3 separate regions of the Homo sapiens genome follow, and regions 1 and 2 are each linked to region 3. Evidence: promoter capture Hi-C in human tissues and cell types (Jung and others, 2019). All regions are on one chromosome and are shown on one strand. Each heading gives the region's core, a stretch centred on a gene start or on the middle of the fragment in contact. The rest is flanking DNA. Distances are from core to core; before and after follow the strand shown.

Region 1 (3,372 bases), core at 164-2,663, 170 kb before region 3:
ATCAAAATTTGTAAGCCTCTCCATCAAGCTCTTCCCTGGATGTTGCAAGTGTTCAACTAGACTTCTGAGTCCCAAAACAGTTGCTTGAGACAATTACTGCCAGCTCAACTGCTTTGGTGGAGGAAAAGATTCCTGGTGCTGCTACTGCCATCTTCCATAACATCATTCTCCATGTCAGCTTTCGTAATCAACTTGTTCAAACATCCTCATCTCTCTTGAGCATGACACCCTGGCCTACTGGTATATTACAAGAAGCACAGAGCTGGGTATAATATAAGGACCAACTTACAAACTTGGACAAAGACTTGTAGGAGAGACTACCTGCTCTGCATTATAAAAAAGTTAAACTAGCCATAAAAACCTGTTGTTCTGACTCCAGGGTGTGCCATCAGCTACTTTATAAAGCAGGCTGTGAGCTGTGGGCCCCAAAGGAGGGGAGTGTTTTGTTGTTGCCGTATTGAAAACATGGCTGGAGTTGGAGGAGGCTGTAAGGGAGCCAGTGGCCCTTGTACTCCTACCCTAAGTGCTGACCAGGGCTTTGGGCTCCACCAGGTGTTTGCTCTCACTGTGGGCTTTGTGGAACTGGATTTTGCCTTAGTATGTTAATATGAGAAGAACAGGCTTTCTGCAAATGCTAAACAGATGGATGACATGGTACTCCCCGCCCCCAACCCACCAAATTATGGGCCAAAAAGGAAGTCTCTTTTTCCTTAATTCAGTAAAGAAACAATAGCATAACTATGTTTCAAACTGTTGTGTTCAAATGAATTTAAAATATTCAGAGAAAGAAAAAGAATTTTGTCCTTTTTAAGACATCCTAAGTAGAAAGCAACTGGGGTGGAGGAGCTGGGATTTGCCAGGCCAAAATAAACAAACAACAATGGTTGGCTATTGTATGGAAACAATGCAACACCATCCAGGAAATTCTGTGGGATTTCTGAGGGATAGGCCACTATGGTTGGCCCTGGGGATGAGGTACCAAACACAAGGCCCCACACTGAGGCAGCTCATGCCAAAGTCACCACGGAACCATCACATTGCCCAACACCACAAATAGTGTCTCCTGTACCCCCTCCCACATTGCCAACTCAGCTAGCAATGCTGCCATTTTGGAACCCCCAATCCCTTCAGCTTCTACAATACTCCGCCCTCCTGGCTCTCACCTGAGCTTCTGGCTGCCCTCTGATGGGGTCTCTAATGAGAACACAAATGTCAAAGGGTAAGGAGGGAAGGGAGAGGCTGGGAACTCAGTGACCAGGAACCTAGAAAATCAACACGTAATAACATGACTTGTCTGTGGCTTCAAAACTATGTCTTAAATAAAAATAATCTTCTATGATACATTTTGCTTTCGAGTACAATCCAGAGAAACTGAGGAACAAAATTCAAGCTTTTGATTCCATGTATGTCAAAGAAGGAAGGTGATTTTCCATTATACTAAACATTTCTTCTACATCAGGCATAACCAGAGAAACACAAGACTTTCATCATCAGAAAAAAGCACATTATGTATCTAAGGACAATTAAAGGCTCTCTTTCCTTTTCATCAATTTGAGCTGAATTTCAACTCATGTCCTGTTGCTGTCTCCTACCCAGTGGCTGTGGATCTGCCCGACTCAGAGGATGTTTTGACCTGTTCTCCTATTGCTAAGAAATGGCTAGAAAAGCTTGGACCCCTTTAGGGTCACCATGTTCCTTCCCCTGCGCAGGTTTTTAAAAACACATGAAACAAAAAACAGCTCTCAACCGTTTATCATATTATATTCCTATGGCTTCTGCTGCTAGTTGTCCTCTGAAGCAGCCAGGCGGTTAATGCTGCTGCCAGGCAGCCTTAGAGACAGCAGATGCCCCTGTGCAGTAAATTCAGTGCCCAACCATAAGTGCCTCCTCCCCTTACCCACACAGGATAGCCATGGCCCCTGTGGACTCCTTACCGAGCTGACGTCCAGCCTGGGGACTCGATGTGTCAAAGGGCTCTGAGCTGGCCTCAGGGACACGGGGCTCCCACGACTCACTGTTCTCAGACACCTCTGAATAGGTGTCACCCATCCCTTTGTGAACTGCTGTGAGCTCACCAGTACCAGGGCCCTGGTCCTCACTGCCTGTGTCTGCCACGGCTCTGGTCTCCTCCCCCATTTTCTCAGCAAACCACTGCTTGACCTGCTGGGAGCTCATCTGGGTCTTGTCACAGAGGTTCTGCAGGTCCTCTTCATACAGCATCTTGTGTGTCATGTAATAGTCCTGCAGGAGCTCCCGGTTGCCAGGGGCAATGACCAGTAGCCCTGGTGGGAAGTTGCCTCGCTTATAGTCTTCGTACCATTTGAGTTGGCCGTTCTTCAGTGCGTACCTGCTATCTCCAAACCAGCGCACCACCTCTGGCCGTGGCAGACCCGTCTGGGCCATGATGGAGTCATAGTCCTGGTTGCTTGGCCACTGTGTCTGGACAAAGAGCTGCCGCAGCAAGTGCCGCTGCTGGGCAGTCTTTTTGCAGCTCACTTTGCCTGGGAGCTGCTCTGCCAGTTTGTTTGACTCATCATCCTCAGGGTCACAGGCACCCAGCCCTGGAATCTCGTTCCTGCCATTGGCTTCAGTGACCCTCAGGTTCTTCAGGTTGATTTTAATGGGGCTGACTTTGCGCTCTGCCAAGATATGGCTGCTGGGCATTTCCAGAGAGCCATTTTCACCAGAGACCCTTAGCTCACTGGCCAAATCCTCTTCTCCACCCTCATCCTCAGCAGCCTCCTCTTCCTCCTGAGAGGCATTCTCCTCAGCCTTCTTGGTCTCCTCAGCATTCACTTTTTTCCGTCTCTCTGAAAACCAGCTATCAATTTCTCGTCGGGTCATTTTGGTTTCACTTCTCAGGCGGTCCAGTTCCTCATCAAGAGGAAGAGGGTTTTGTGCAAAACTGCTCTCCAGGGCTCTGAGCTGCTCAGGGGCTCTCTCCTTGTATTTGGTTGGTGTGAAGTCAGGAGTCTGGTGCCAAGATTGTCGTTTGGCAGAAGGGTGGGTTGCTAGTGTGGCTGTTGTCGGAATGCAGGTTACCTCAGGGACCTTGGACGATGGGGAGAAGGACACCTCTGGCACAGAGTCAATGATGATGGAACTGTGATCTCCAGGTATCATCGCTCTGGAGCCCTTCAAGTTCCGGCAGTGGTATCTACGATCACTGAACCATTTCCGCACCTCTCTGGTACTGAGGCCCGTCACTTTTGTGAGATGTTCAACTTCGCTCTGCCCTGGGAACTGGTTCCGACAGAAGCTCCCTTTCAGAGCTGACAGCTGTTCATGAGATTTCTTATTTTTGTAGATGCTAGCATCAAGGAAGGCTTGGGAGGTTATGCTGGGGCAGGCCGTGAGGAGCGACTGGGCCGC
Region 2 (3,377 bases), core at 816-3,315, 140 kb before region 3:
CAGAAGGTTGGCGTCATCCGACACGTGTCCTTCAGCATGGCTCTGCTGGCTATGTTGAGAACAGACTGTAGGAAAACACAGTGGAGAAGTAGGGAAACTTGTCAGACATCAATCTAGGCAGGAGATGACAGCAGCATGGACCAGGATGGTAGAGATGGAGGTAAGAAGAAGTGGCTGGATTCTGGATATGTTTTGAAAGTAAAGCCGAAAAGACTTCCTAAAGGAATGGATAGGAGGATGTGAACATTGTAGCCACGGGAATCAAGGATGACTCCAAGATTTTTGATCTAAGCAACTAGAAGGATAGTGTTGCCATCAACCAAGATAGGTTTAAACCTGGGAAGCTTTGTGAAAAAAGCAAAGCAAATCTGTGCTGCTAAAACTAGAAGGTCCTTTTCCAGGGGAAAAACTGGATTGAACTGGTTTGGTCACAAGTGTTGTAGGAAATTAATGGGTCAGACTGCTAATGAGCAAAGAGGCTGTGTAGTGCCAATGTTCCCAATGAAAAGACTCTGGTCTTTGCCAAAAGCTGCTCAAATCTACAGAGAAACTACAGAAATGGGGGTTGGGGGGAGGCTGGGACCAAATCTAGGGTATTATAAGAGCCAAGTAGTTAGAAATTGCACTCTCTGAGGTGTGAGACAGCGCCTTTCAAAGTTAAACATGTTACTTTAAATGTACTTGCATCCTAAATGTTGTTCCAAGTACTAAGTAAATTACTTTATTAAATTTAAAACTAAACAGTAAAAAAGAAATTGTTCTGGATGTGGTTTTACTTCTGAGATTACATTTGTTTTGTTTTAATTGAAATTTTCCAGTGTGGGCCAGATAGTTTACAGGCTGAATAGCTTGCAGGCTGGTGAGCTCACTTGAATTTCTCAAGAACATTTGTTAAAAAAAAAAAAAAAAGAAAGAAAGAAAGAAAAATTCTCTCTGGCTGACCACTGTGGATAAGATGTTCCTTTTACCTCTTCCAGGCTTAGTCTGTATTGATGATTTTCTTCAATGGCCTCACTACAAAGTCCAGCAAGATCTTACACACAAGAAAAAATGCTCAATTTCACTCACAGTAAGAGAAATACAAATTAAAATTACTCTGATTATTTTTCTTTCACTTACTTTGGAAAGGCTTGAAACATTGGATAATAATATCCTGAGTTGGCAAGGGTTTGCAGAAATAGGCACTCTCATACACTGCTTGCTGGAGTGAAAATTGGTAAGACTTCTATTAAGAAGTATTTAACAAGAACAAAATTATAAAAGCTCATTCCCTGACTCACCAGATTCTGCCTCTAGGAAGGCAGCCTGCTGATATACTTTGCACAATGGTAAGTCATACATGTATAAGGTAATCTACTATCAGCATGGTAATGGCAAAGGACTGGAAATAACCTAATCACTCATCAACAGGAGATAATCAAATCAATTATGGCACACTTATACAATGGAGTAACACACTTGTGAAAAAGAACAAGGGAGGTGCTTTTTATGCTGCTATGGATTAACCTTCAAGCTATCTTGATATATGTTAAGTTTTTTAAAAAGCAAAGCACAGAATAAAAATTATACGCTAGAAATACCTCGAGAAAAATATGTGAGAAACTAATAATAGTGTTTGCCCCTGGCGAGGGGAAGAGGGAGATGTGTTTGAGGGAAGCTTTTCCCTGTAGCCCCTTTTAAATTCTGAACAATGTTAATGTGCTATGTATTCAAAACAAAAAGTTAAAAATTGAATAAATACATAAGTGGAAAAAATGTTAGCATATTTCCCAAAATACATGGGTTGTTACAAATAACAAGTGAGAAAGTGAGAAGCTAATGGCGTCAGAGTAGAGGTCCTTACAGAGTATGTAACTGGGTCAAATACCAAGTAGTGCTCCTTTACATTTCAAACTTCTAATAGCTACAGATGAGCTTTTGGTGTAACTTCTGTAGGGGTGCATGTGAGCACTTCACTTAAAACTATATATTATATATTGCATTTGCCTCTGGCCATAAAGCCATAGTTCAAAAATAACTTAGAGATATCCAATATACAAAACAAAAAATAAATAAATAAAAGAACAAGCAAAACAAAAAAAATACCCAAAATGGAGGAGTGGGACAATATATGCAGTCCAACTTCTTTCCTAATTAAAAAATCCTGCAGCAATCTGTTATCCAGTCTCCAACTGAGTATCTCCCAAATGTGGGAGCTAATTATCATTTATGACAATTTATTACAAAGCCCCTTTCTTAGTTGGACCTGGTTCCCAGCTTTTAGATTTGTCTTTTGGACATAAATCAACTCTTTTTACTACATGACGCATCAACTCTCTTTTCTATATATCAGCTTTTCACACAGTTGAAGATCATTTCCTCTTTTAGTATTTACTTCTGCAGCTAAGTGTCCTGAATTCATTGCACATTCTCTCTATACATTCTAATTTGTCTGCATTTCTCACAAAATGTGGCAATTAGAACTGAACAAAGCATTCAAGATGTAGCCCAACCAGAAGAGAATTAAATGGAAGCTGTGTTTTCATCATCCTATTACCATGACTAATACAACCAAAAACTGAGCTAGATACAAGTTCTATTCTCCCCCTCACAGAGGAGGACTTTGAGGTGAAGTGACCCAGTGGGACAAGGAAACACTGCTAGAATTAAGGAGGATTAGGATTCTTTCATCACAAGGCCATTTGGATACACGTTTTCAGACACTCATTTATAATTCCAACAGAGGACTTCTGAGCTATCTTCCCCTTTGCCTCTTTGAAATCTACCTTCTTAAGAAAGGAATGTTAGACTTTCTCTGAACATCCTATCTAAATGTCTTTGGGGGCTCCCCCAAATCCAAGCTGAATTATTCTCTATCACAGCATCCTAATTGTTTCTTTCATAACATTTATCAAAATTTGTCTGGATCTTCATCTGATTCTTTTCCTGCTTATTGTCTTTCACTTTGGCTAGGCTGTAAGCTCTGTAAGTAAGGTCAGGGCCTATATCCACTGTTTCCGTAGCATATAGCACAATGTCTGGCACATAATAATCGTTTTCAGTGAGTGAATGGGTGAATAAACGGTAGCTGATAATGGAGTTAAGACTCTAACATCAGACAGAGCCCTAACACTGTGGACTGTGTATTCCTGGGCAAATGACTTAAGTCCTCACAATCCATTTCCTCATTGGTAAAATGAGGAGCTATTAATACCTACCTCATAGACCTGACATGACATTCGGTGAATTGATAGGAAGTACACAAAATGATTTAGCATGCTGTCTGATATACAGGAAACACTCAATAAATCATAGTTACTGCAGCTACTGCTACTGTTCTAATTACCACCACATCCCACTCAGAGGCTGGCCACTGAAGGATGACAATTAACTGTAAC
Region 3 (3,165 bases), core at 321-2,820:
GGACTCCAAACTCCCATGTCTCTTCTGTCTGTTCTCTGTGTCCCTGGGAGCCAACGCCCTTGGTCTGGGGTCCAGCCCCGCTGCTGGTCTCTGATTCCAGCCTCCGTGATGGGTGGCCCCTGGGCTAAGCACTATTTGGAACCAGGAGCCTGATGTGGCTGCCCCTCCCTGCGTGGGGAAGAGGCCAGCCCGGATTCTCCCTCAAGTGCCCTGCCACACCCCCCCATCCTTCGCTGATTCCAAACTCCTTATCTTGGCATTTAAGGCTTCCGAGTCCCCACTCAGTGACTCCTTTGAGAGCACCATGTCTTGTCCTTCCTCCCTGCCTGGCTCCCGGGGAAATCCACCTCTCCTCGTAGTTTTGCAGCCCCTGCCTTTGGTCCTGTTCCCTTACTCTCAGAGCAGTTCTTGTACCACCTCCTCCAGGAGGCTCGCTGTGATGTACCCAGGCCCACTGAGTGTCGGTACTCTTCCTCCTACAACAGCTCTCAAATTCAGCTAGAATTCAAGTTCAGCCAGCACCCCAGGCAGAGCCTCCAGCCCACTTAACTGAGGCCAGTTCGCAAGCCACTGCCCACGAAACACCAGAAGCTGAGGCGGGGAAAGCAGGCTCCTTGATGAGCCACAAGGGCTGAGGAGGTGGCTGCCTGGCATAAGCCGACCGCTGTGGACGGCTGTGCCACAGCACAGGCCCGGAGCCAGGAGCCCGCTCTGGCTCTGCAGCCCGGCCACGCTGGGGCTCCCATGGGGTTGCTGGGGCCAGGCTGACTGCGAGAGGGCAGCGGCCGCCCGGATGCGCAGCTCTATCTCCTACCTGGCCGGGCCAGGGGAGAGAAGGGAGGCCCGGGGCGGGGGAGCCCCGCGTGCTCAGCGCGCGGACCGCCTTTCCTCCTCTCCCTCCACCTGGTCCGCTCGCCCGGAGTCTGCACACAGCGCAGCTGGAAAATGTTACTTCGCTGGAAAGGTTTCCGCTGGCACTGCCAGGATCCCAAGCCGCCGCGCCAGGCCCCCTCGGTTCCTTTTTCCTCGCCAGCCCCGCAACCTCCCGGAGCGTAGGGCGCTCGCCTGGGCAGGGGCTCGGCCCCGGGCGCCGCCCCCTCTGTGCAGCGGCCTCGGGGTGCCCGGGGCCTCGACGCCCCCCGCGGGTGCGGGCAGGTGGGAGCGGCGACGCGCGCGGGCCCATCCCTCCCTCTTCCCGCCCGCCGCCCGCCCGCGCTTACTTGTGCGGCCCCGGGCGCAGCCGCGGGCGCCATCCCGTCGTGTAGAGACTGTAGCGGGAGGCACCGGGCGGCGCAGGCCGCGCCAGGAGCGGGGTGCCCCTGGCCTGCGCCCCCGAGAGCAGCGCCGCGACGGCGCACAGCCAGACGAGCAGGCGGCGGCGGCCCATAGCGGCCCCCGCGCCTCTGCCCGGCCCCGCGCGGTGCCCCCCGCCGGGTGTCCGCCTGCAGCGCCGCGCCGCCCCCGCCGCTGGTCGGCCCGGGTCCCGCCCCGAGGGTCCCGGGGTCCCCTTCGGCCCCCGAGCTCGCTGGCCCGGCCGCCTGGCGCTTCGCGGCGGCTGCGTCCCGCGGAGTGGCCGGCGCTGCTAGCGGCTGGGGCCGCGGAGGGGAGGCGGGAGGCGGGCTCTTTGCGGATTAGCATAAACTTGGGGCCGCGCCGCTCGCCGCCGCCAGCCCCTCGCCCCAGCTCCGAGCGGACGGCCGAGGAGCCGCCTGCGAACAGGAGGTTCCAAAGGGAGCAGCCCCAGGTGGCAGGGGCGCAGGCCGCCGCGCCCTGGGAGGCCCCCCGAGCACACCAGCCACTCTGTCGCCTGCGGGCACGGGGCGAGACGCAGAGAAGCGGACCCCTGAGGCCAGCCTGGGCGTGGACTTTCCAGGAGTCGTCCACCCTCAGGATACGCTTGTCTTCAGAGTCCGTGTGAACCCGGGAACTGCTCTCCAGGGCTCTGGAGCCGAGATGGCCGTGACTGGGGGCACAGCAGCACCACCTCCCCCGCCACCTCTTTGGAATAGACCCCAGATCATCCCCGTTTGCTCGCTCTGCCTCCTGGCCCCATCATTGCCCGGGAACCTTAGTTTGATAACTCCGCTGACCTCTCCCCAGGCATCCCACCTCCCCCTTACCCCGCAACCTCTGCCACGTAGCCTGGTGGCCCGGTTGCACCTCTGGTTCTCTGGAGGCGCCTGTGTTGCCTCTCTGTCTTAGGTATGGGTTGCACCGAGCCCGAAAGGCCTATCACCGCCCCAGCCCAGCCAAAAGTGCTGTGCTTTTCGTGCAACTGAAGCTCTAAGCCGGCTGGTCAGAGAAAATCCTCAGGTCTTTCTCACAAGGCACTGCCGCGGTGAAGCCAGGCGTCGTCCACATTTTGCTTGTGAAGTTGACTCTTGGAACCCAAGAGTTGGGTTTTATCGTCGTCCTCATTCAGTATCACCTTGCTAACTCTCTAACCTGCACAGAGTCCTTCTGATTCTGTCATCAGAGCGGTACTTTCCTGGCCTTGTCTCATCCACACCGGTGGCTACAGCCGTCTGTGTCTTTGCCCCAGGAGCTGATAGGTGTACAGAACTCTGGGGCTTGCTTGGAGAGACCTCCCTCCAAATTGACCTTGAGATATGAATTAATGCCTTTTGGATAGGGTGATGGTTATCAAGGATACTGGAAGGGGCAGCTCCGAAACCCACATCTATTTCCTGCCCTTAGCTTTAGTGGCTTTTGGGTTCTGTGGGGCGGACATCTGACCCCAGCTAGGCCCATCCTGCTTTCCCCCAGGCTTTGGAATCAGAACACAGAAGCTGAAGGAATCCAGCTTCCAGGTGTAGGTTGTGTGAGTTTCTCAGGGCTGTGGTAACAGCCACAGACTCAGTGGCTTAACACACAGAAATGTATTCTTGCACATTTCTGGAGGCTAACTCCAAAATCCATGGGCCAGCAGGGCAATGCCCCCTCCAGTGGCTCTGGGGAGAAGCCTTCCTTGCCTCTTCCAGCCACTGGTGGTTCCTGGCAATCTCTGGCGTTCTTTGGTCAAGGATTCTTTGTAGCAGCATCACTCCAGCCTCTACTTTCCCTCCGCATATCCCTCTTCAGGTGACCTTTTTTTCTCTGTGACTGTGATCTGTGTCCTTTCCTCTTCTTTCTGTTTTTGTTTTTTGAGCCAGAGTCTCGCTCTGT

Evidence for each region. Contacts are between HindIII fragments. The study calls those that stand out against the background at their distance.
Region 1: a contact is called between a fragment that was not itself captured here and the fragment with the promoter of EMILIN3 in region 3, in 2 of the 25 tissues and cell types used here (neural progenitor cells and spleen).
Region 2: a contact is called between a fragment that was not itself captured here and the fragment with the promoter of EMILIN3 in region 3, in 1 of the 25 tissues and cell types used here (H1 embryonic stem cells).

The regions. Positions count from the first base shown.
Region 1 is chr20:41,200,123-41,203,494 of GRCh38, forward strand. ZHX3 (zinc fingers and homeoboxes 3) reads right to left here. Exons shown (of 4, transcript NM_001384317.1): 3 at 1,935-3,372. Among named protein-coding and RNA genes, the nearest start is that of MIR6871, 33 kb to the left of the region's middle. The HindIII fragment of the contact is 4,664 bases long and covers 1-3,372 here.
Region 2 is chr20:41,222,014-41,225,390 of GRCh38, forward strand. All of the region lies in intron 2 of ZHX3 (zinc fingers and homeoboxes 3), which reads right to left. Among named protein-coding and RNA genes, the nearest start is that of MIR6871, 55 kb to the left of the region's middle. The HindIII fragment of the contact is 5,357 bases long and covers 1-3,377 here.
Region 3 is chr20:41,365,248-41,368,412 of GRCh38, forward strand. It overlaps EMILIN3 (elastin microfibril interfacer 3), which reads right to left and starts at 1,571. Exons shown (of 4, transcript NM_052846.2): 1 at 1,221-1,571. The coding sequence starts at 1,387. RefSeq lists an enhancer at 308-809. The HindIII fragment of the contact is 32,668 bases long and covers 1-3,165 here.